Linked DNA regions of Homo sapiens: regions 1, 2 and 3 are each linked to region 4. Evidence: promoter capture Hi-C in 16 types of primary human blood cells and fetal thymus (Javierre and others, 2016). All regions are on one chromosome and are shown on one strand. The core of a region is centred on a gene start or on the middle of the fragment in contact, and the rest is flanking DNA. Distances in the headings are between cores, read along the strand shown.

Evidence for each region. Contacts are between HindIII fragments. The CHiCAGO score rates a contact against its expected background, and 5 or more counts as called.
Region 1: a contact is called between a fragment that was not itself captured here and the fragment with the promoter of TAFA5 in region 4, in 3 of 17 cell types (endothelial precursors, naive B cells and total B cells). The highest score is 8.6, in endothelial precursors.
Region 2: a fragment that was not itself captured here is called in contact with the fragment with the promoter of TAFA5 in region 4 in 1 of 17 cell types (naive B cells); the score reaches 5.9 in naive B cells.
Region 3: a contact is called between a fragment that was not itself captured here and the fragment with the promoter of TAFA5 in region 4, in 2 of 17 cell types (total B cells and M2 macrophages). The highest score is 7.1, in total B cells.

The regions. Positions count from the first base shown.
Region 1 is chr22:47,204,871-47,207,570 of GRCh38, forward strand. No RefSeq gene overlaps it. Among named protein-coding and RNA genes, the nearest start is that of LINC01644, 280 kb to the right of the region's middle. The HindIII fragment of the contact is 4,357 bases long and covers 1-2,700 here.
Region 2 is chr22:47,436,560-47,439,259 of GRCh38, forward strand. No RefSeq gene overlaps it. Among named protein-coding and RNA genes, the nearest start is that of LINC01644, 49 kb to the right of the region's middle. The HindIII fragment of the contact is 882 bases long and covers 862-1,743 here.
Region 3 is chr22:47,230,202-47,232,901 of GRCh38, forward strand. No RefSeq gene overlaps it. Among named protein-coding and RNA genes, the nearest start is that of LINC01644, 260 kb to the right of the region's middle. The HindIII fragment of the contact is 6,773 bases long and covers 1-2,700 here.
Region 4 is chr22:48,488,137-48,490,836 of GRCh38, forward strand. It overlaps TAFA5 (TAFA chemokine like family member 5), which reads left to right and starts at 1,417. Exons shown (of 4, transcript NM_001082967.3): 1 at 1,417-1,568. The coding sequence starts at 1,457. The HindIII fragment of the contact is 4,041 bases long and covers 1-2,700 here.

The DNA of each region.
Region 1 (2,700 bases), core at 2-2,501, 1.3 Mb before region 4:
GATCGGTCAGGGTTAGATGTGGGGTGACGGAGAGAGAGCAGGTGATCTCTCAGGGTTAGATGTGGGGTGAGCTAGAGAGAGCAGGGGATCTCTCAGGGTTAGATGTGGGGTGACGGAGAGAGCAGGGGATCTCTCAGGGTTAGATGTGGGGTGACGGAGAGAGAGCAGAGGTGGAGGGAGTGGCTGGGTCCTCCTTACTAGTGGGAGCCACAGGTGAGGGATGAGGGATGCCTGCCTGGGGTGGGGTCAGAGTGTCCAGTGGGCTGGTGAACATTGCCGGGTTGTGGGGACGCTCAAAATACTTTCCTGTTCAGCCCACGGCCACCCCCAGAAGCTGAGACATCCTGACGGGGCCTCCGTTCCTGGCCACCTCCAAGCTCACACATCACGGAGCCCCCAAGCCTGGAGCAGCCCTCTCTGGTACTCGCCCCATTCGGCCCAAACACACACCCCGTTCTTTTGTTGGGCTCTCTTGAAGGCTGGGCCCCCGCCCTGTGGGTCTCCTCGCACTGCTTGGTCCTGTGTGGCAGGGCCACTTGTCCTTTCCCCTCTTCATTCCTCCCCGGCTCCCCGATGTCACCCTCCCTCCCAGGCTCCCCCATGTCACCCTCCTTCCCCAGCCTCCCTGCTGAGGCTACTTTCCCTCCCTGGGCACTTCAGGGACACTTCTGGAAGGCAGACGTGACCCTGCCTTCCCCTGATCAGGGACCCTCTGAGCTCTGCAGGGTTTTGGTGTGGGCACCTGTCTCTAATGTGCTCACAGCCCAGGTGCCCTCTCCATGGCCCATCTCTAGGCAGGGGCAGGCCTCTGCAGCAGTGTCTGCAAGGTGGTGGGCGGTGGTGCAATGGCAGGCAGGGGACGGGGAGGAGAGCATGGCTGCTGTGGTCCCCCAGGACAGCTGCGCTTAGCCCCTGGTGTGGGTTTGTGCATTCACGGGCTCCGTCCCTACCGTGGACATCATCTGGTCATGGCAGATGTGGTTTGTGCAAGCCTGGGATGGACGTGGGTGGTGTGGAAACCCAGGCTGGTGGCAGGGCCTCTCGAACTCGGCCAGGCTCTTGCACTCCACGTTGTGTGGCTTTGGACAACTTGCCAGGCCTTTTGGAGCCTCTATTTTTCCATCCGTGAAATGGGCGTATAACACCTCCCAAGGCTGGAGGCCACAGTTAAAGGAATGTGACCATCTCCTGTTGCAGGAGGATCCCTGAGTGACTCTTGGGGGGAGATGTTATAATTCGCTTGGTTTCAGTCCCTCCCTCAGAATCCTGGGAAGATACTCCAGCCTGGATATTCCAGTCCTTTTCATCATTTTCCATTATTCAATGGAATTACTGAATTATTCCATTATTTAATGGAAAATGGAGAGGTGGCAGGAAAGTGCCCTCCAGGGCGGGAGGCAGGAGGCAGGGCTTGGACTCTGGACCAGATTGAAGACTAGCTAAAACAGGGAAGAGCCTAAAGCACCTCCTATAAGACACACCCACCGGTGCCATGTCAGTTTACCATTGCCATGGCAACTCCTGGAAGTTACCACCCCTTTCCATGGCAACAGCCCAGAAGTTATCATCCTTTTCCTGGAAATTTCTGCATAAAGTGCCCCTCAATTTACATGTAATTAAAAGTGGGTATAAATATGAGTCCAGGCCAGGCACAGTGGCTCACGCCTGTAATCCCAGCACTTTGGGAAGCCAAGGCAGGCAAATCACCTTAAGGTCGGGAATTCGAGACCAGCCTGGCCAACATGGTGAAACCCCGTCTCTAGTAAAAATACAAAACTTAGCCAGGCATGGTGGTGGGCGCCTGTAATCCCAGTTACTCGGGAGGCTGAGGCAGGAGAATTGCTTGGACCTGGGAGGTGGAGGTTGCAGTGAGCCGAGATTGTGCCGCTGCACTTCAGCCTGGGTGACAGAGCAAGACTCTGTCTCACAAAAAAAAAAAAAAAAAAAAAAAAAAGTGGGTGCAGCACTGCCTTTGAACTGCCGCTCTGGGCACACTGCCCATGGGATAGCCCTGCTCTGCAAGGAGCAGCACCTCTGGTACCACTTCAATAAAGACTGCTGTCTAACACCACCAGCTCGCCCTTGAATTCTTTCCTGGGTAAAGCCAAGGACCCTCCCAGACTAAGCCCCAATTGTGGGCCTGCCTGCCCTGCATCATGGGTGTTGGACTCCGGGTGGTTTGGAAGTGCTGGTTCTAGTATCAAAGACCCACACATGGATGTAGCTCAGAATGCTTTTGTGCCCGGGAAAAAGTTTGGGGTGATGTGGTTCTGTCACCTAAAGGGTCAGTCAGCTGGGCTGGTGAGAACAATGCTCTTGGCTGGAAGTAGCAAAGAAAATTGCGAGTCACTTTCAGTTATTTTCTGCCTCTTTCATGGGCTTTTCTAGACAATTTCCTTGTTTTCTTCCCTTGAGGTCTGGTCTCATTCTTCCAGCAATGACGTGGTGGATTTAAAAAACGTCCACCATAGTCTTTTGCCATTCCTCCCTCCAAGAAACAGAGGCTAATTTCCTACTCTCTTCACACATAGAATATGGAAGAAGTGGCAGTGAGGAACTTCCCAGGCCAGGTCAGAAAAGGCACTGTGGCTTCCCCTCTGTCCTCTCTTGATCACTTGCTCTAGGGCTCCTGCTGCTGTGGTGTGGGACCTTCGAGCAGCCTGTGGAAGTCATCCTGTGAGGAACTGTGGCCTCCCCCAA
Region 2 (2,700 bases), core at 53-2,552, 1.1 Mb before region 4:
GATGTCTGTCCCCTTCAAATCTCATGTTGAAATGTCATCCCCATTGTTGGAGGTGGGCCTGATGGGAGGTGTTTGGGTCCTGGGGGCAGATTCCCTCATGAATGGCTTGCTGCCCTCCCCTGGGTGATTAGTGAGTTCTCATTCTATCATTTCACATGAGAACTCATTTTTTAAAGAGCCCGGCACCTCCTCTCTCTCCCTTCCTCCCTCTTTTGCCATGTGACACCACTGCTCCTCCTTCACCTTCTGCCTTGAGTAAAAGTTTCCTGAGGCCTCACCAGAAGCCAAGCAGATGCTAGTGCCATGCCTGTACAGCTTGCAGAGCTGTGAGCCAAATAAAGCTCTTTGCTTTATAAATTACCCAGTCTCAGGTATTCCTTTATAGCAATGCAAAACGGACTAATACACTGGTTTTAAATCCACTTGGGCCCTAATTTCTACTTTCAGAGTTTTCCACCATAGCACTGTGTAGATTTAGAGTCCACACAGTCTGGGCTTGGAGTTCTCACTACCTGGGAGAAACCGTTTCTGCCCAAGGCAGCTTGTTTCCTGTCTGTTTCCTAAGGTTCGGGGAAAGTTGTACTATTTCCTCTCATAAATCAGATCAATCCTTCCCTGCTCTAAGCTTTTTGCAGAGAGCCCACATCTATCTCTCTTTTAAATATTGGACCCTCCAATCTTCACTCAAGACCTAATGCAGTCATTGACACACAGCCTTAAGTCACAAGTCTGTTCTAGCACTCCCGAAGCACAGGGTTTCATTTCCCCATTGCTAACCCACATGTTCTCTTGTACTGACTGGCACCTGAGATTTCCCAGGACTGCTTCTAAATCTGCTATTTACTTTTTTTTTTTAAAAAAAGCTTTGTTTATTAAATAGTACATAATTAAATATTAAAATTTAAATGTTGGAAAATTATTTTAATTAACATTAAATTAATAAAGAAAAATAACTTGTCTTTTTTGTTGTTTTAACACATTTATGTATTGTGTTTGGAGCAGAAAAGGAATTTGTCACATAGCTCATTTCACTGTTTTTCCAACTATCTATTGTGGCTGCCTAAGAAACCACCACAAAACTTAGTGGCTTATACCACTAACAAACTTTGCCCTTGCTTACATGTCCATAATTTGGGCAGGACCCAGCAAGGATGGCTCATGTCTGTTCCATGTAGTCACTAAGGGCAGCCTGATGGGGCTAGAGAACCCACTTCCAGGACAGCTCAGTCCGTGCTGGAGCTCAGTGGGTACTGTCAACTGGGGCCTCAGCTCTTCTCCATAAGGGGTCCCTCTGCGTGGTTGATTGTACTTCCTCACAACATGGTTGCTTGGTGCCAAAAGCCAGTATTCCAAGACACAAGAAGTGACAGATTCCAGCCTCTTAAGGACTGTGACTGAAAACCAGCATAGTGTGGTGGCTGCTGTATTTTAGTGTCAGGTATCACAGAGGTCGCCCAGATTTAAGGGGAAGGGGGCATAAATTGTTCCTCTAAATGGGAGGACTAGCAAAAGACTTGCAGCCATCTTTAATCTACCATATCATAGTAGTGGAGGTCTCCAATCTTCTTTTCTTTCAAGCTCTAGATTTTTAAAACACTTATCACTGGAAATTGCCAACCTAAATAACAAACAGAGAAAGGCTCTCTAAAATAAAATGATATTTCTTCAGGAATTGGGCATTGCAATGAGAATGCACATTCCATAGTAAGCGATGCACATATTCAGAAAAGTAAAGGAAGGCAAAGCTTTCTAAGGAAAAAGTGAGGAGGATTGTATAATTGTTCTGAGATCGTTATCCTTGGCTAAGAGAGTAATGACAAGGGTGAGACCAGTCTAAGACTGAACATGCAGTTGCTAGGCAGATGTCTTGAAGAAGTATGTTTTGTGTAAGGTTGCAATGGCCTTTGTGCAAGGTTGGGTGTTTCTCAGTCTTTTGTGATAGTTTGTGTTATCCGGCATTTATGGGTGAGAACCCTCCCTGCATGGCCTTCCCCAGCTCTATCTGTCAGGGTTTCTTTAAACCCAAGTGACTTCATTTTTACTCTGACAACTTTCACAAAATGTATCTGAGTATGCCCGCAATCCAAGATTCCTCTACATTCCAAATTCTCTTTTTCCTTTTCAAAATAAGGTATTCAGCATAGTTAGGATGGGAGCCTACCACTTTACCTAAAATCAGCAAACTTAAAGCAATTTGCCTGATGATCAATTACCTAATTCCCAGCTAACTTAAACGTCAACATATTTTATAACCTGTTTGTATGCACCACTAAATCTTATGTTTTTTCCCCTTTTGGTGGGAAGGGGGTTGTACTTTGAGATATTTTAAGAACACATTTCACTTATTCTTCCAAAAGACATGTCATAAAAATTACACTTCTGATAAACATTTATTAAGTGCAAAGAGGGTTAGACCTGCTTTGTATCCTTACCTGTGTCTTTTTTAATTAATTTTGATTTTTTTTTTTTGAGATGGAGTCTCACTCTGTCGCCCAAGCTGGAGTGCAGTGGCACAATCTCGACTCACTACAACCTCTGCCTCCTGGGTTCAAGCAATTCTCCTGCCTCAGCCTCCTGAGTGGCTGGGATTACAGGCACGTGACACCACACCTGGCTAATTTTTTGTATTTTTAGTAGAGACAGGGTTTCACCATGTTAGCCAGGATGGTCTTGATCTCCTGACCTCGTGATCTGACCATC
Region 3 (2,700 bases), core at 58-2,557, 1.3 Mb before region 4:
TTGTGTATTCAAGCACTGCAGTTTAACAAAATTAATAATTTTTACTGTCATCAAGGACATATTTTTTCCTCTTTTGGACAAGCATGTGGCCATGATGAGCGCCGTGACTGCCAGTGTGGCTTGCTGTCTCTGCCTTCGTTGTGTAAGTGTTGGGCCAGTTTCACCGGGCATTGCTCTGACACCGTCAATGTAAATGTCAGCACAGTGTTCCAGAATAAATCATGAGATTTTAAAAGCCATTCCACAGCCTGAATATTTCAACATCACTTGTGTTTGCTGTCAAGAAGTCACAGAAAAGACCTTCTTTGGTGATAAGTTAGTGCTGATGCCAGACCGATGCAAGTACATAGCAACTCTAGCTATGTCTAGAGTCTTCCATTTGTAAGGAAAAAGCACAATTCTGCCAACAAAATATTAACTCGATCTTCATGTTTGCAGCTCAGTATTTATTCAGTGAGTTACCATATCATTGGGAAGTGGCAATGCTGTGATTTCTTCCATTGACTTTTCAGCCAGCAGCCATGAGCGATGTCCACGTTCATGGCTATACTCTTCTCTTGGTTGTTGTACAGGCTTCTCCAGCCAGTGCGATGCGGCGACTCTGTAAGATGCTTCATTGGCTTTTTCATTTCTGCTTTGAAAAGCTGCAACAAACAATTTTTGGCTTCTAAAGCTCTCATCACATCCATGTTTAAAATATTTCATTCGTTTTTTCTTTAAACTCTGAAAGATTGCTCTCAAAGTGCTGCCGCTACTTAACTGAGAGCATAATACTCTTTGAAAATGTTCTGTTGCATAAGACACAATAAAGCAAATATCAACATCTATAAAGCCAAGGAAATAGCTCTTGTCATATTTTTGTTTTTTACTTACAGTTTCACCCAGTTTCCTTGGAGTAGATTCCTCCCTTTCATCATTTTAGCATTTTTAGACATTGATGGTGCAGATGGGGATTGAGAAAGTCTTTTGATCTTCCTTGTTAAGCCACCAACTCATCTTTAAGTATAAATAACATTATAAATAAATATTAATTTTAGAATAAAATATTAGATTTTATATGTTTTTGACAAAATTTAAACACTTGGAAAATGTTCAAAAAATAAAATACTATTGCAAAACAAGACAATAAAGAGAAACAGACTTGAGTTAAGGGAAAAGGAAAATCCTTCCAAGAACTGTTTAGAGCTGTCCCCAAATAGGGCAATTGTCCTTGGGAGGAGAGAATTGCCCATCAACAGAGGTAATCAAGTATTAGCTGGATAACAACAGGCTGGGTTACCGTGGAGGAAACTTATCACCCATTGGGAACTTGCACTCAGTAACTGAAGGTTCCCCAGCTTAGTGGTCTATATTCTGTGCCCTGCATACCCCTGCTCCCCTGAGGTCTCCAGCAGCCCCCAACCCCCACACCCCATTTTCAAATCCAGTTCCTTCCCCATGGCTTCTCACTGCTCAGCCTTTTTGCATCCTTGAGGGCTTGGCACACATGCTCCATCTTGGTGCCTCCTCCTCCCCTGGCTTCCATGACACTAAGCATCCTGGATTCTCCCACTACCCCAACCACCAAGCTCTGTCACCTCCATCTTCATCCCTCGAAGCTATAGGACTTAGTCAAGCCTGGTCCCAAGCCCTTCTCCTTGTTCCTACCCCCATTCTTCTGGGGGCCTCACTCCTTGTCTCAGCTTCGTGTTGGAGCTTTCTCTGCAGCTGCAAAGAAATGAGAGGCCATGTCTTCACAGTCACGGATTCTGAAACCCAACTGGGAGACGAAAGATGCCAGGAGGGAGAAGGGAGAGCCTTCAGAGCACACTGTGCCAACCAGAGAGAGCTGCGCTGTGATGATTACAATGCCACCTCCTCCTGAGTCCCTGCCAGTGCCATCCACGGGCCAGGGCTTTTACCTCGTTAATCCTCTCAACAACCCCAGAAGGTCATGCTCCACTATCTTTGTGGAGCTAAGAAAATGAAGATTCCAGATAGACGATGAAATGTGTCCCCCATCTCCTAGATGGAAAGAGGTAAAGCCAGGACTCCAGCCAGGGCTCTTCTCCCCTAGAGGCCTGTGCTGTTAACCTTCACGTGTCTCCTTAGGGAAATCCTCTGTTCTCCAGGTGGAGAGGCCAATGGGGGCAGAGGAGAAGGTCAGGAGGAGTTCACGGGAGGGAAACCCGGCAGTCAAGGCAGATAAGACATGGCGTGGGATCACACCTTTGGGGTCAGAATCCCATCCCACTGTTTAGTTGCTGCCCATGAGGGGTGGGTTTCATCTCTTCTCCTGTCCCTTGCATATGCAATGGGGTTTGGTGTCCCCACCTCACAGGGCTGTTGTGGGAGTTAAACAGCATGATATGTGTGAAGGAATTGCCCCCAGCTTGGCAGGGCAGGCCCACAGCTTGTGCCGTTCCCTTCTGCCTCGGAATGTTTTTCTCTCGGAACATGGTCTTCCTTTACAGGATTGGAGCACCCTGCATATAAATGACAGCCAACATGGGATTTCTCTTGCTTTAGCAGAGAGAAAAAATAGCCTTCAATTACTCAGTGTGCATTTCCATTCAAAATGCTTGGTTGCTATAGCAAAGATCATCGACCCAGAACTCGGGCACACATGCTGGATGGCAGCTTCTCCTGGGGCACGATGACAGCTCTGGTATCGACAGACCCACCGGGGGCTGTTCTGGGCCAGGGCCAGAGCTGACCAAA
Region 4 (2,700 bases), core at 167-2,666:
GTGAGTGTACGGCTGGGGACAGTCCACATCCCTTCACCTCCCTGGACCAGGCCTCAAGATGAAGGGATGATGCTTCTTCTCCCTGGTTGCTCAATCTGACTTGCAGGCCCTCTACTGGCTCCTCAGAAAAGGGTCTCCAGCGCCAAAAGAATCTCCTGGGGTGCTCAAGCCCCCAGCCCTATGCAGGATGGAGAATATCTTGTGAGTTCCAGAGGAGGGGTTCTATTAGTCGTGTGCACGAACCTGCAGGAAGGCAGAGCTTGGGGTGGTGCTGTGGCAGCTACCGGCAGGGGCCAGAGCCTCTCCAGGCAGCAGGGCCATCTGGACATCCTGGACTGGGGAGCGTATCTCCTGGGCTGTAGAGGGAGGTGCAGAGGGGACATGACTAGGAGGGTTGGAGATGGGGAAAGTGTCCTTGTGTCCTTACAAGGCTCATTTTCCCCCCATCCTTTGCTTGTTATAGGAGTGAACCTGTCTTGCAGATGATCGTTGACTATGCAGGTAAAATAGATTGCGATCATTGTCATCCTGCTCAGAAAACCCACCTGGATAGGACCAGTCCTGGGACTGGGAGCCCGGAGACGCCACTGAGAGCCGGTCCTGCAGGGACTCCAGGGAGATGAACCAGGAGATGGCTCAGCAAGGACCAGGCAGTGGCAGAGGTGCCCGAGTAGAGTGATCGTGGGGCAGAGGACTGAGGGAAAGTGCGTGCCTGTGCCTGGCAGTGCCGCCCCAGGTGGAGGAGGAGCCCTCAGGGTGGTGGGCTTCCGATGAAGGGTGACTCTGCTGGGGTCTGAGGCTGTGCTCCCAGTGGACTCAGGGACCCCACTGCACAAGCCCGATTTTGGGTAACAGGGCACACCTAGGGAACAGGCCCAGAGCACCCTCTCCTTGGAATAAACTCCGGATCCAAGTCCCAGAACCCACCTTAGGAGGCGTCTGCCGCCCCCGCCCCCTCCCCAGCCTTCCAGGCCCTGGCTGCGGTGGATGGGGGCGCGGAAGGCCCAAGTGCGCGAACTTCACCTGGCCCGGCCGTCCTCCCCGTGGGGGGCCCAGGCTGCGGGCGCGTCAGGCCGTCTCTGTCGCCATCCGGAGGAGCGGCTTGGGCGCCGCGTCCCCTCTGCCAGGCCCGGGTCGGCGGGCGGCTGGAGCCCCCAGCGGTGGCGGGCGCGCGCCTCTCTCGCGGATGCCGGGGCGCGCGTAGCCGGGGCGCGCAGTGACGCCCAGAGCGGGGCCGGCGTCCCCCTGGCGGGCCGGCGCGGGGTCGGCGGGCGCGGGCGCGAGCGCGGGCGGCGCGGGCGCGGCGCGGGGCGCGGTGGGCCGGGGCCCGGGCGCGGCGGCGGCGGCGGCGGAGGATGGCGCGCGCGGGGCCCGCACGTGGAGGCCGGCGCGGGGGCGCGGGCAGGGCCGGCTGCTGAGACGCGCTGCTGCCCCCCGCGCGGGCGCCGCGGCTTCAATGGCGCCATCGCCCAGGACCGGCAGCCGGCAAGATGCGACCGCCCTGCCCAGCATGTCCTCAACTTTCTGGGCGTTCATGATCCTGGCCAGCCTGCTCATCGCCTACTGCAGTGAGTACCGCGCGGCCCCGGCCCCGGCACGGCCCTCTGGGCCCCGGACCCCCTCCTCCGGCCCCGGCAGGCGCCCCGCGGGCCTCCCGGAGTCGGCGCGGAGTTACGAGCGCCGGGCGCATGGTCCCCCGAGTCCCGGCCGGTCCAACGCTGCGCTGGGCGGGCGAGAGGGTCCACCCGGGTTCCGGGCGCTCGAGCACTTCGGGGTCGGACGCCCCGGCCCGAGCCTCCCTTCCCTGACTCCCCGGCAGGGCCCGGGCTCCAGGCCCCGGGTGGCGCGGCCCGTCCCTGCCCGGCGGTCGGAGCCCAGCCAGCGGCTTCCCGGCCGAGATGCGCGCTCAGGAGGCAGCCGCAGGTCGCGGAGGGCGGGCGGCGCTGCCGGGGTGTCTGCGGAGCGCCCTCCCCGTGCCTCAGCCCGGGACAAGGGGGGAGGCGGCGGCCGAGCCCGGAGAGGAGCTCTTCAGGCAGGAGCCCAGCCTGGGCTCGGAGGAGCAGCTGGAGCTTCCGCTTTCCCGGGAAACGGGCTCGTCAGGCGCCTTCTGGAAAGAGAAGCGAAGTGAGGGATGGGATGCCCGGAGGGGGCTCGCCGCGGCCGCGGACGTTTCTCGGGTCGTGTCTGGGGCCCGAGCTGGTGACCGGCGGGACTGGCGCGGGCGCGGGCTGGGGTGGTGCGGGCCAGTGGGCGCCCGGGCGTGAGCTGAGGGCTGGGGTAGGGGGTGACCGCCGCGGGCTCCCTGTTGCCTGGAGTGAAGGGTGGGGGGTGGCCTGTGCCCCTGCCGAGGCTCCAGGCGGGTGGAATGAGGGGTGGTTGGAGTCCCGGGTGCAGACTCCAGCCTCGGCGCTGGGGAGGGTGCTCAGCATCCCGGGGCACGTTCGCGGCTGGTGGGGTAAGTGGGGGCCGCTCAGCGTCCCGGGCACAGGCTCTGGCCCCAGATGGCGCGGGCTGGTCGGCTTCAGCTCCGGGAGCTCCGGGCTTCTTGTCTTCAGCGGGAGAATAGGACGGGTGCTGGGGAGCACCTGTCATGGAGAATTGCCATGGGCGCGGGAGGTGATGGAAAAATATGGATTCTTTACAAAAAAAAAAAAAAAAGGCCAGCACCGAACCTCCCTCCACAGACACCACCTCCTCCAG